Linked DNA regions of Homo sapiens: regions 2 and 3 are each linked to region 1. Evidence: promoter capture Hi-C in 16 types of primary human blood cells and fetal thymus (Javierre and others, 2016). All regions are on one chromosome and are shown on one strand. The core of a region is centred on a gene start or on the middle of the fragment in contact, and the rest is flanking DNA. Distances in the headings are between cores, read along the strand shown. Region 1 holds the start of GUCY2D (guanylate cyclase 2D, retinal). Region 2 holds the start of ALOX12B (arachidonate 12-lipoxygenase, 12R type). Region 3 overlaps CHD3 (chromodomain helicase DNA binding protein 3).

The links. The method cuts DNA at HindIII sites, captures the fragments that hold promoters and counts their contacts. A CHiCAGO score of 5 or more calls a contact.
Region 2: the fragment with the promoter of ALOX12B here is called in contact with the fragment with the promoter of GUCY2D in region 1 in 1 of 17 cell types (monocytes); the score reaches 5.1 in monocytes.
Region 3: a fragment that was not itself captured here is called in contact with the fragment with the promoter of GUCY2D in region 1 in 1 of 17 cell types (activated CD4 T cells); the score reaches 5.2 in activated CD4 T cells.

The regions. Positions count from the first base shown.
Region 1 is chr17:8,001,012-8,004,781 of GRCh38, reverse strand. GUCY2D (guanylate cyclase 2D, retinal) reads right to left here and starts at 2,167. Exons shown (of 20, transcript NM_000180.4): 1 at 2,048-2,167; 2 at 1,014-1,743; 3 at 626-930. The coding sequence starts at 1,734. The HindIII fragment of the contact is 12,410 bases long and covers 1-3,770 here.
Region 2 is chr17:8,086,404-8,090,127 of GRCh38, reverse strand. It overlaps ALOX12B (arachidonate 12-lipoxygenase, 12R type), which reads left to right and starts at 2,412. Exons shown (of 15, transcript NM_001139.3): 1 at 2,412-2,832. The coding sequence starts at 2,686. MIR4314 (microRNA 4314) reads right to left here and starts at 2,072; the gene lies at 1,981-2,072. RefSeq lists an enhancer at 2,636-3,384. The HindIII fragment of the contact is 26,367 bases long and covers 1-3,724 here.
Region 3 is chr17:7,894,262-7,897,942 of GRCh38, reverse strand. It overlaps CHD3 (chromodomain helicase DNA binding protein 3), which reads right to left. Exons shown (of 40, transcript NM_001005273.3): 7 at 3,678-3,681; 8 at 3,335-3,528; 9 at 2,793-3,026; 10 at 2,401-2,604; 11 at 649-860. Among named protein-coding and RNA genes, the nearest start is that of CHD3, 7.3 kb to the right of the region's middle. RefSeq lists an enhancer at 2,996-3,681. The HindIII fragment of the contact is 5,669 bases long and covers 1-3,681 here.

The DNA.
Region 1 (3,770 bases), core at 918-3,417:
ACATCTAAATTCCCTTCTCATAGTGGTTTCTAGTCCCCCTTTGTGGCGGGAGTAAAGTTAGATGATCTGAACTGGGATTCTGGGGACTTGGGGATCCCTAGGTATTAGCTGGATGTTGGAAATACACTATGGATCTGGTTAGGATTGCCCCTGAATCCACCCAGGGAACTTTCTGCTTCTTGCAAGGTGTCTAGGCCCTTGAAAAGCTAAGACCACCAGATGAGGCCCCAGAGGAAATACCTCTGAACTAGGGATGAAGGTTGGATTGGCATCCTCCCTCCTTCCTGCTTTCAAGAACACCAAGTATTTATTTTAGACAGCTGGGAGTATGTGGTGGTGGAAACGGGTTTACTTTGAAGCCAATTGCAAAAGGTTTTGCAGTTTACAGTTCATTAGAGTTTACTGCTTGATGTTGGACTTGAGAGGTCGAATTGCCTACTCTCTAGAGGCAATCCTCGTACACTAAGAGACCCCAAGTGGGGCCAGAGCCTCTACATTACCCAGGAAACTCCAAACAGCTAGAGCTGCCAGTGGTTCTTTCTCCATTGGCTGCATCCTCCTCTCCCTGCTTTGGCTGTCCTCTCCCCTCTCCCTTGCCTTCTTCCCTCCTCCCGGGACCGTCTACCTGCTGCAGATTGAGGTCAGAGGGCAGCTCGCGGCGCTCTTGAGCCCTGCGCAGGCTGTCCAGCACGCTGCCTTCAGAGGGACAGTGGCGCGTGAGGGTGAGCACGGCATCGTGGGCCCTGCGAAGCTGGGAGCTGTTGGCGAGTGCGGCCAAGGCCTCCGGGCCTGGGGACAAGGCGTAGTGGATCGTGTCGAAGGGCAGGAAGACCAGGGAGCCATCGGTCAGGCCCAGCTCCTCTGCGGCCTCCAGGAGGTAGCGCTGCTCCTCGCCACCCAGCAGCACCGAGTGCATCACCATGATCACTGCTGCGGACAGAGGCTTGGCTCGCGGCGCCGTCCGGCTGCCGGCAGGACCAGCCGACCTCCTCGCACCCTGCAAGGGAGCCTACCTGTGACCCTGGGCCCGTCCCGAACCTTCCTCAGGGCCTCCCGGGCTCCAGACAGGTCCAAGGGCTCCATGGAAGTCACGGAGGCGACAGGCAGGCCCCGGGCCCTGAGTGCCGTGGACAGTGAGCGTCCCGCCTCCACCCACAGGTCCTGGGGGGCGGTGACCAGGGCCACGCGCGCCCAGCCGAATGCGCGAAGCAGGGCGTAGAGGGCATCCGCGGCGGGGGTCACGGCAGGGGCCGTGGTGCCCTCCGCCTGCGTCCAGGGGCAGCCCCAGGGCACCAGCGCGATCCCGGCTTCTTCGGCGAGCAGCTCGGCTGGCCGGCAGGCCGCAGGGTTCACCGGACCCACGAGGCCCGACACGCGGGCCAGCGCGGAGGACACGGCCCCCAGCGAGCCCGGCGTCCGGCAAGGCTCGGGCAGCAGCGCTACCTCGAAGCGGGGACCGCCTGCCAGGCCGGGGTCGCGGTTCAGGCGGGCGGCGGCCAGGCGGGCGGCCAGGTCCGGGCGAGCCCGAGAGAAGATGGGGTCGCAAGCCCAGGGGCCCAGGACCCCCACCGTGAACACGGCGGAGAGGGCGGGGGGCTGCAGCAGAAGCAGGAGCAGCAGGAGCGGGAGCCGGGGCAGGGCCCGGGGGAGGCGGGGCAGGGACGGAGCCCACCACGCGGGACCGCAGAGCCCGGGGTCCGGAAGCCCACCCGCTCGGCGGGCGCAGGCGGTCATTGCCGGCTTCTGCGAACACAGACGGAGCAGGCTGAGCGACTGAGACCCCGGCCTCCCCTAGGGTTCTCCCCGTAACCCCGAGTTTCTCCAAGCCCGAGTAACCCATGGGATGATTCTGCTGCTACCGCCCCCTCCGGAGGCTGGGAAGACTAACTGGGGCCAAGGACACCGCCCCGAAGCCCCCTTCTGCCGCCCCGGCTTCCCGCTCCCACCCGGCCTGCCCCTCCCCCCGTCGGAGGCGTCAGGGGTCAGCAGGGACTCGCCTGCGCCCTCAGACCGACCCTATCCCAGCGGAGGGGCCTCTGACATTTACAGGGAAGTCCGGGGGCTCGGGCCCACGGCCCCCGGTGAGGGGTCACAGGGCCGGTCCCCCTTTTGACGCCCGCCCACAGGTCTTCCTTGCCAGCCCAGGCCAGGGCGGGGGCGTGGGTACAGCCGGCCAGAGCCCTTAATCTCCCCAAGCTGATTAGGGTCCTTAATTAGGTAGGGAGGGGCGGGCTAGTGGAGGATGAGAGCCCCTACTGCGCCTTTCTGGGGTGGGATCTGTCCTGGCTTCCAGGTAGTCAGCCAGATCCTTTCCCCTCCATGCCTTCCAGCCCCCCACATCACCCTCATCACCACCACCCCTGCACAAAAGCAGCCGCAGCTTCCCCTTTCAGCCGTCGGCCACACTGCCCTGCTCAGCCAGAAAGTAACAAGTGCCTGCCCGTGGACAGCTGTGGGTAATCCGTCCTGGAGAAGAAACACTGATCCCAGTCCCTTTCCTTACAATCTTCTGTTTCCAGTTCTGCCAGCTAAGTTCAAGCTCCATCCTTTGGCTGGCAAAGTCTATATCCCAGAGACCAAACCCACACCAAGCTGACACCTGCCTTTCTTCTTTCACTTCTCTTCTCTCTCTCGCCACACTTGATTCCCTGACCTCTGCTTCTCCATGCCTAGAAAACCACCCTCAGGAAGTAATGAAAAGAGCTTTGGCCTCCGACAGACCTGGGTTCCAAGTCCCTCTTGCTGATTTTTGGACCTTGGGCAATTGCTTAATCTGAGGGTTGTTGTGAAAATGAATATAATTGCCCGGATGGCAAGAATAGCTAACAATTTTAGAGAAGAGTATAATGGAAGATGCCCTATAAGATATACAAATTTATTATAAAGCAATAGCAATTATGTATTTATGTAAATATATAATATATAAAACATAGCAATTATATATCTACATAAATATATAATATATAAAACATAGCAATTATATATTTATATAATTATATGATATATAAAACAGCAATTATATAAATATATACTATAAAGCTATAGCAATTATATATTATATATTTATATAAATCCACATTATGTAGTGACAGCAATTATATATTTATATAAATATATATTATAAAGCTATGGCAATAAAGACTTCATAGTTTTGGCACAAGGATAAACAAATGGACCAATGAAATAGAATATACAGTACTGAAACAAACACAGCAAATGTGTGAAGACGTGGACATTTCTTACCAACTGGGAAAGAATAAACTTCAACAAATGGAGCTGATTAGCCATCTGGGGGGAAAATAGAATTCAATCCCTATCTCACACCATACACAAAATCTATTCCAGGTCAAAGACCTATATGTGAAAAATAAAACTTAAAAACTTTTAAATGAATCATTTTCAGACTTGGTGGCAAAGATTGGATCAGGTAAGAATCATCAGTGGATTCTAAAGCTGGGGGAAATGTTGGATGAGGAGCAGAACTTTTGCAGGGTCTGAAAGTATCTCCCTCCAGATTGCCATGAGTTGGAAGGGAGTGGGGAATAAAATAAAAAGCAGTCATTGTACAGTGGAGAAATGGGGCAATACTTTAAGCAAGTGATCAAAATTAACCATGAGGGGCAGAGAGACATTCTTTGCCTCCAGATGTGATACCCTGAGAAGGACATAATACTACACCTATGCAGTGCTGCACAATACGTCTCGGCAATGTTCCAGCATTATTTCAAATCTAATCACAAGGAAACATAAGATAAACACTAAATGAGAAA
Region 2 (3,724 bases), core at 1,163-3,662, 85 kb before region 1:
AGCACTTATCACTATTTAACATACTATTTAATGTATTTGGTTACTAGGTAATATTGTCTGCTTCCCTCACTTGAAGGCAAGCTCCATGGGTGCAGGGGTTTGCTTTGATCGCATTGTATTTTCAGGACCTGACACAGCGCTGAACACACAGTAGGGGTTCGGCCAGTGTCTGTTGATGAATGAATGAAAGGCACGTGGTCCCAGACAGAAGAGAGCAAAGGGGAATGTGAGGGGTGAAGCCAATCAGGCAGGCCGTGGGGGCCACGGGAGGGGATGGTGTCACTGTCCCAAAGGTAAAGAGGAGCCACTGCCAGGCTTGATCAGGGTTGGGAGGAGGGAACATAGAGAGTGATGTGAACAGATTTGGGTCTGGAAAAGATCATTTCAATCCCCAACTCCAGCCACATCTGTGTCTCTAACCTAAACCTGAATTGCAGTTTCGACCCCATTCCACATCCAGTCTGGAACCTACTGGAACCTTCTCTTCATCTCACAATCCCAGCCCCCTCTGACCCTAACTTGGCCTGGGCATTGAATGACCTTCCTTCGATGGTGATGGAAGCGTGCCATCAGGGAGGAAAGCAGGGCTATGCTTCCTGGTTGACAGAAGCTGCTCCTCGGAGGTGAAAGGAAAGAGGACAGGTCCAGAAAAAGGGAATAGGAACGTGCCTGCCTCCTCACTCTCCCTGGGTCCCAAATCCTATCTTTGGAGAGTCTATCTCTGACTCTCTCATAATGCTCTTCACCTTACTCCTAACACCTTCTCCCTATCCTGCGGCTCTGACTTCTGTGATTCTATCAGCAACTAGTTCCCAATCCCAACCTCCCACGCTTATTTTCTTCAGAGCACTTAGTATCCAAAATTATAGTGAACAAATTCTTGTTTACTGTTTCTTTCACTTCTTTCCCAGCTATTCCGTAAGCTCCATGTATGTTTCATTTCTTCTCTGCCTCTGCAGTGCCTAGAACGCCGTGCACCGTGCTCACTACATATCTGAGGGAGGAACGACCTGGTTCCCAACAAACACAGTTCCACTGGAGCTCAGCCCTGCCTCCAGCCCTCTTCCTAGCTTCATTCTTTTTTGGGAGGGAAGTGAGGGTATGTACTTTATGAAATTAAAGGATAACACATAATGAAATGAATGAAGTACCCTAGACGCCCCTCAGATCAAGATAAGAACACCTCCAGCAGCCTATATGGCCTCCCTCTGCCAGGGATACTCACCAGTAGAGGTTGTCTGAGAATTGCTCAGTTTTGCTGGTTCTGGAAGTTCCTATCAATGGATAACAGAACGTATCCCCTTTAATGTCTGGCTCTTTTTGCTCAGTATCATCTTTGTGAGACTCATCCGCATTGCAGTTCATTCTTTTTATTCCTGGGTAGAATTCTATTTTATGATTATACCACAAAATATTGATCATATTAATCCATTATTTAACTTAATTCTTTTGTCTTTTTTTTTTGGAGACGGAGTCTTGCTCTGTTGCCCAGGCTGGAGTGCGGTGGCACGATCTCAACTCACTGCAACTTCCGCCTCCTGAGTTCAAGCGATTCTCCTGCCTCAGCCTCCCAAGTAGCTGGGACTACAGGCGCATGCCACCACGCCTGGCTAATTTTTGTATTTTTAGTAGAGACAAGGTTTCACCATGTTGGCCAGGCTGGTCTCGAACTCTTGAGCTCAGGTGACCCACCTGCCTTGGCTTTCTAAAGTGCTGGGATTACAGGCGTGAGCCACCACGCCCAGCTATTTAACTTAATTCTTATGCCCCAGATTTCACTCTGTCTTCTAATTTAGTTTTTTTTTTTTTTTTTTTGGGCTTCTGATTTTATATCCAACTCCAATCCCTCACCAGTGGATCCTGGCCCCACAGGAAGCAACAGATCCCCTTCTCCTACCCTGATCGTTCCTCCCCGCAGCATCTTCAGGCCTTTGGGCACCCATGTGGTCCCCGAGCCCTAGCTTCAACACCTCCCACCCTTCCAGTCACAGACTCTGGGCCCTGGGGCAGAAGGACAGGCCAGCTTTCTCACTGTGGCCACTACCTGTCCCATTTCCCAGAGAGGAATGGCCTGGAGGCTGGCCAGCTGCGCTGCCACTTAGTGCCCCTCCCCCTCCCCTCCCCCGCCCACCAGTGGCCTCAGAACCAATGCAAGTCACTCACTGCCCATGGCCCTGCTTAGTAGGGGTGCCTGGCACTGTAGCCAATGGGGACTGGCAGGAGGAAGGAGCTTATTAGTCTGATAAAGATCTGGGGACCACACCCTGCCCCCTCCCGCAACTTCCCTAGGGCCCTGGCTCAGGCTGGACTGGCTCCCCCACCCTGAAGGCGCCTTCATCCACGGCATCTTCTATCCGCCCTTTCAGAGGCAGGCCCAGTGCCCTGCCTGCTCTTCCTCCCCACCAGCTCCCAGAAGGCTTGGAGCCCAGACACCTGCTCACTCACCACCAGCTGGGCTCCGCCTGGGCCTGCCCGGCACCCACCCCGGCCACCAAGGGCAGCAGCTTTTCCAGAATTTGGCTGGCAGGCCTAGTCACCCCACCTCGCCACCTCACCACTGCACCTCGGAGGCCAGCCCTGTCCACTCCACTCTGTGCCTGGCTTCTCTTGCCTGCCTTGGGCCTTCGTGTGGCCCCTCCACGGTGTCTGGGACTGAGTGCCCCTCTTGCCTCCTGAAGAGCAGCCATGGCCACCTACAAAGTCAGGGTGGCCACAGGCACCGACCTCTTGTCGGGAACACGGGACTCCATCTCACTGACCATTGTGGGGACACAAGGAGAGAGCCATAAGCAGCTGCTGAACCACTTTGGGAGAGACTTTGCAACTGGGGCGGTAAGAGTGTGTGTGTGTGTGTGTGTGTGTGTGTGTCTGTGTGTGTGTGTGTGTGTGTCTGTGTGTGTCTGTGTGTGTCTGTGTGTCTTTGTGGCCCCGGGAGGGGTGAAGGTGCGCAGGGGGAGCCAGGTGAGCTGAGCTTGGCGAGGAGAGGCTGGAGAGCTGAGGCACAGCTCCGAAGGCAGTGGGCTCCCCAGTGGCTCTACACGCCTTGTCCAGAGCTGGCTTCCAGCCCCTCGCCCATGTCCCAGATCTCTGGGCCATCCTTCTCCATCCTGCTCCTTCATCTCTAACCCTTTCAGGCATTCCTCATCTCCCTCCCCATCCTTTTCTTCTCTCTCCCTCTTCCTCAGCCCTCTCTCCCTGTCTCTGCCTATCCTGCATCTCTCTTTTCTCAATCCTTTCCACCTGCTTTCCTTCCCCTTTGCTCTCCTCCCCTTTCTGTCTTACCCCCTCTCCCGCATCCCTCTCTCTTCCATTCTCAGTCACTCTTCCTAATTCAGCTGCCTCCTAACTGTCTCACATTTGCACTGGATTCTCTGTGACTTAAAATGGCATCAGACCAGCCTGTCCAGTGGAAGGCACGCTTTGCGGGTCCTCAGACCTGATTTTCAGTCAGACCCAGCCACCTGCTGCTAGGCGACCTTAATAGGTCACTCTATCTATGTGGCCATTCTGAATATCTGCATCTTCATTGATGAATGGGAGAAGGGGCTGGCTGGGCCTCTCCCCACTCGAAAACTGTAGAGTGGTACCCAAGTCCCCAGGGGTCTGAAGGGTTCCTGCAACCTCAGGTGCCTGGAGAGGGGAGTGGGAGAAGACAGGAGCTGGGGATGGAGAGAAGGAGGGGCTGGAGTCCTACATAGCCCTGGGTAGAGGAATCCAGTAGGAG
Region 3 (3,681 bases), core at 1-2,500, 110 kb after region 1:
CAGGAGGAAAATATTGCACAGATCACAAACAGAAAGAAGGCCTGAGAAACGCAATTATCAGCAAACACACAAAATTTGTCACCCAACCGTCAACAGTGAGCTGCTGGAAGGGAGATTGGAATAGTTGACCTAGCAGCCTAACCTTCTCAGGATGGTATCCTAAAAATCAGCTATCACAAAACATTCCTGGAGATCCCTCCTTATCATTTGTTCACCTAATCACTAAGTATTTTCCTCATGGAACTCAGAGTCTCGTGGGGAAGGCAGCATTGAAATAACTAAATACATACCATTAAGTTTAGGCAGTAATAAGTACTATGAAGAAGAAACATTCAAAACACTGGTCTGGATGAATTATGTCTCTCATGTTTTGCTTTCATGCCCTCATCCCCAGACTCATGTGCTATGTCTTATGCCACTGGAGATGACAGGAGGCAAAGGACAAAAGAGGCACTGCCTGGCCGGATTTTCCTCCTGTTTTCTCCCGTTCCCCTGGAGGAAACAAGGCCAGAAAGGCTGGAGCTACAGCAGAGGTTATCAAGGTTAGATCAATTACCTGGTTAATCAGCAAATACTAACATGGGGCCATCACCATGGTAAGAATAATGTCATATACCAGGTCTGACTTCCCAGGGACCGAGGATTCACCTGTGGTTGATGATGCGGTGGACGGTCATCCACTCTGGCTTGATGCCAAAACGATAGTACTTCTCCTCCATCTCAGCATAGTGCGGGTCTTTCACTTTACGCTTGTCGCTCTTCCCATCATCCTCGCCGGAGCCATAGTCCAGGGGTGGGGGCTCATCCATGTCATTCTTCCGCTGGTAGTTTCGATACATAACCAAATGGAAGATTTCCAGCTAGCAGGGCACAGAAAAAAGGGAAAGAGATAGTCCTGACACTCACAGAGGACAACAAGGAACCGGGAAGAGGCCGGCAGGAGGAATGGGACAGGGAAAGGGAGCTATGAAAAAGGATGGATTGGCCCAGGCACGGTGGCTCATGCCTGTAATCCCAGTGCTTTAGGAGGCTCAGGCGGGTGGATCACCTGAGGTCAGGAGTTCAAGACCAGCCTGGCCAACATGGCGAAACCCCGTCTCTACTAAAAATACAGAAATTAGCCAGGTGTGGTGGCGCACGCCTGTAATCCCAGATACTCAGGAGGCTGAGGCAGGAGAATCGCTTGAATGCATGAGGCGGAGGTTGCAGCGAGCCAAGATCACACCACTGCACTCCAGCCGGGGCAATAAGAGAATAACAGGCGCGTCCCAGCACTTTGGGAGGCAGAGGCAGGTGGATCACCTGAGGTTGGGAGTTCGAGACCAGCCTGATCAACATGGAGAAACCCCGTCTCTACTAAAAATACAAAATTAGCCAAGCGTGGTGGCGCATGCCTGTAATCCCAGCTACTTGAGTGGCTGAGGCAGGAGAATCGCTTGAACCCAGGAGGCAGAGGTTGCAGTAAGCCAAGATCGTGCCACTGCACTCCAGCCTAGGCAACAAGAGCGAAACTCCATCTAAAAAAAAAAAAAAATAGAAAAAAAAAGAAAAAGGATGGATTAGAGATAAATGAGTCAAAGCCAAGACGGAGAATAAATAAAATGAAACAGATGCAACAGTTTCAGAAGACAAGGCCTGGGTGGGGCTCTTACAAGCAAGAGATAGGGAATGGGATTAGAAACATTGAGAATTTTTTTTTTTTTTTTTTTTTTTTTGAGATAGAGTGTCGCTCTGTCGCCCAGGCTGAAGTGCAGGGACACGATCTTGGCTCACTGCAAGCTCCGCCTCCCGGGTTCACGCCATTCTCCTGTCTCAGCCTCCTGAGTAGCTGGGACTACAGGTGCCTGCCACCACGCCCAGCTAATTTTTTTGTATTTTTAGTAGAGATGGGGTTTCACCATGTTAGCCAGGATAGTCTCGATCTCCTGACCTCAGGTGATCCGCCCACCTCGGCCTCCCAAAGTACTGGGATTACAGGCGTGAGCCACCACACCCAGCCGAGAATTTTTTTTTAAACAGAGATGGGGTTTCACTATGTTGCCCAGGCTGGTCTCAAGCAATCCTCCTGCCTTGGCCTCCCAAAGTGCTAGGATTATAGGTGTGAGCCACCATGCCCAGCCAGGAATATTATAAAACATGGAAAAAGACAGATAAGGAAGGACATGAAGTTAGGAAAGGCTATGCTATATCTGAGGGAAGGAAGCTAACGGAGACTGAGAGAAAGAGGACTGTAGACCAAAAGAACCACATATGGAAACTAAGCAAGTAGGGTATGAAGGCCACAGGCCTGAAATGAGAGAAAACAAAGAGTATGGGAACCCAACAAACAGAGGAGTAAGAGAGGGAGAGGATGGCAGGAAATGAGGTCATGGGGGAGAGGGAAAGAAAAGGTCCTAGTACCTGAAGCTCCTTGGCCCAGGAGCAGTGCCAGTAGGATAGTCCTACCCACTTGACAAAGAACTCTCGCTCTGATCTGCCTTGAAGAGGACGGGGGGGTGGGACATCTGGATTTCCATCTGCCTGTTGAGGGGCTGGCACTGCTACAGGTGGCTCCCCCCACCGCCAATGTAGGATCTTCTGCACTCGACCCTTCAGCACGGGGCACTTTGGGATGGACACGTACAAGGAGGAGGAAAGAAAGAGGCAGAAAGAACCCATTGTTAGATGAGAAGATAGGGGTCCCACAAGGGTGGGGGAGTGCAGAGAAATGAAAAGCTGGACATGTGGGCCCCAGGGATGGGGGAAGGGATCAGGCCTGACAGTAAATACAGAGGGGAGATGTTTCCACTCACTGTGCATCGGGGACACAGCCATTCACCATTGGGAATGTCAGGCAGGGGAGGGTTTAGACAATGAATGTGGTAGGAGGAGATGCACGCGTCACAGCACAGGAGCTCCCCGCCGTCCTTGCATACGCGGCAGTACTCCATGTGATCATCCTCCTCCTCCTTCTCCCCTTCTTCCTCTCCCTCCTCTTCGTATTCTTCTTCTTCCTCCTTGGCCTCCCACTGGACCCCCTCCTTCTCCTAGGGGGCCAAGGATAGACACACAGACAGATGGAAGAAATTAAGGAATGAAACTGGAAGATACAGGCAAAGACAGGACACCTGAATCCTAGAAGTGCAGAGAAGACTGGTGGGAACTAAGGAAAAGGACACTCCAGTTTCAGAAATGTTGATTGTGGGAGAAAGGAATACATTAGGATCCTAGACACTCGGACATCTGTTACTAAGAAGTCCAGCCATCTGGGGGCAGGAAGAGGGTAAGTGAAACCAAGGGGGAAAGAGATGGGTGGGTTCCTCAGGGCCATCAGATGCTGGCATTAGGTACTCACACAGTGAGGGCAGCTCCATTTGCCCTCTGGAGCCCGGTCAAGCTCAGGATCAAGGCAGACGAGGTGGTAGGCACGAGGGCAGGTGTCACACAGAATAATTTCCCCACCCTGCTGGCACACCTCACAGTAATCCTGGTGATCCGTCTCGTAGCCATCAACCTCCTCCTCCCCGGCCACTGCAGGACAGCCCAGGACTGTCATATACCCCGGTGGAGGGATAAGGAAGCAGGGCAGGGGGAGATGGAGAGAGAGAGGGAGAAGGGTTGAAGAGAGAAGTCAAAATTGAAAATAAGAATGAGAGGACGGCCCACTGACAGGATCACACACAGTCAACACTCCTTACCCTT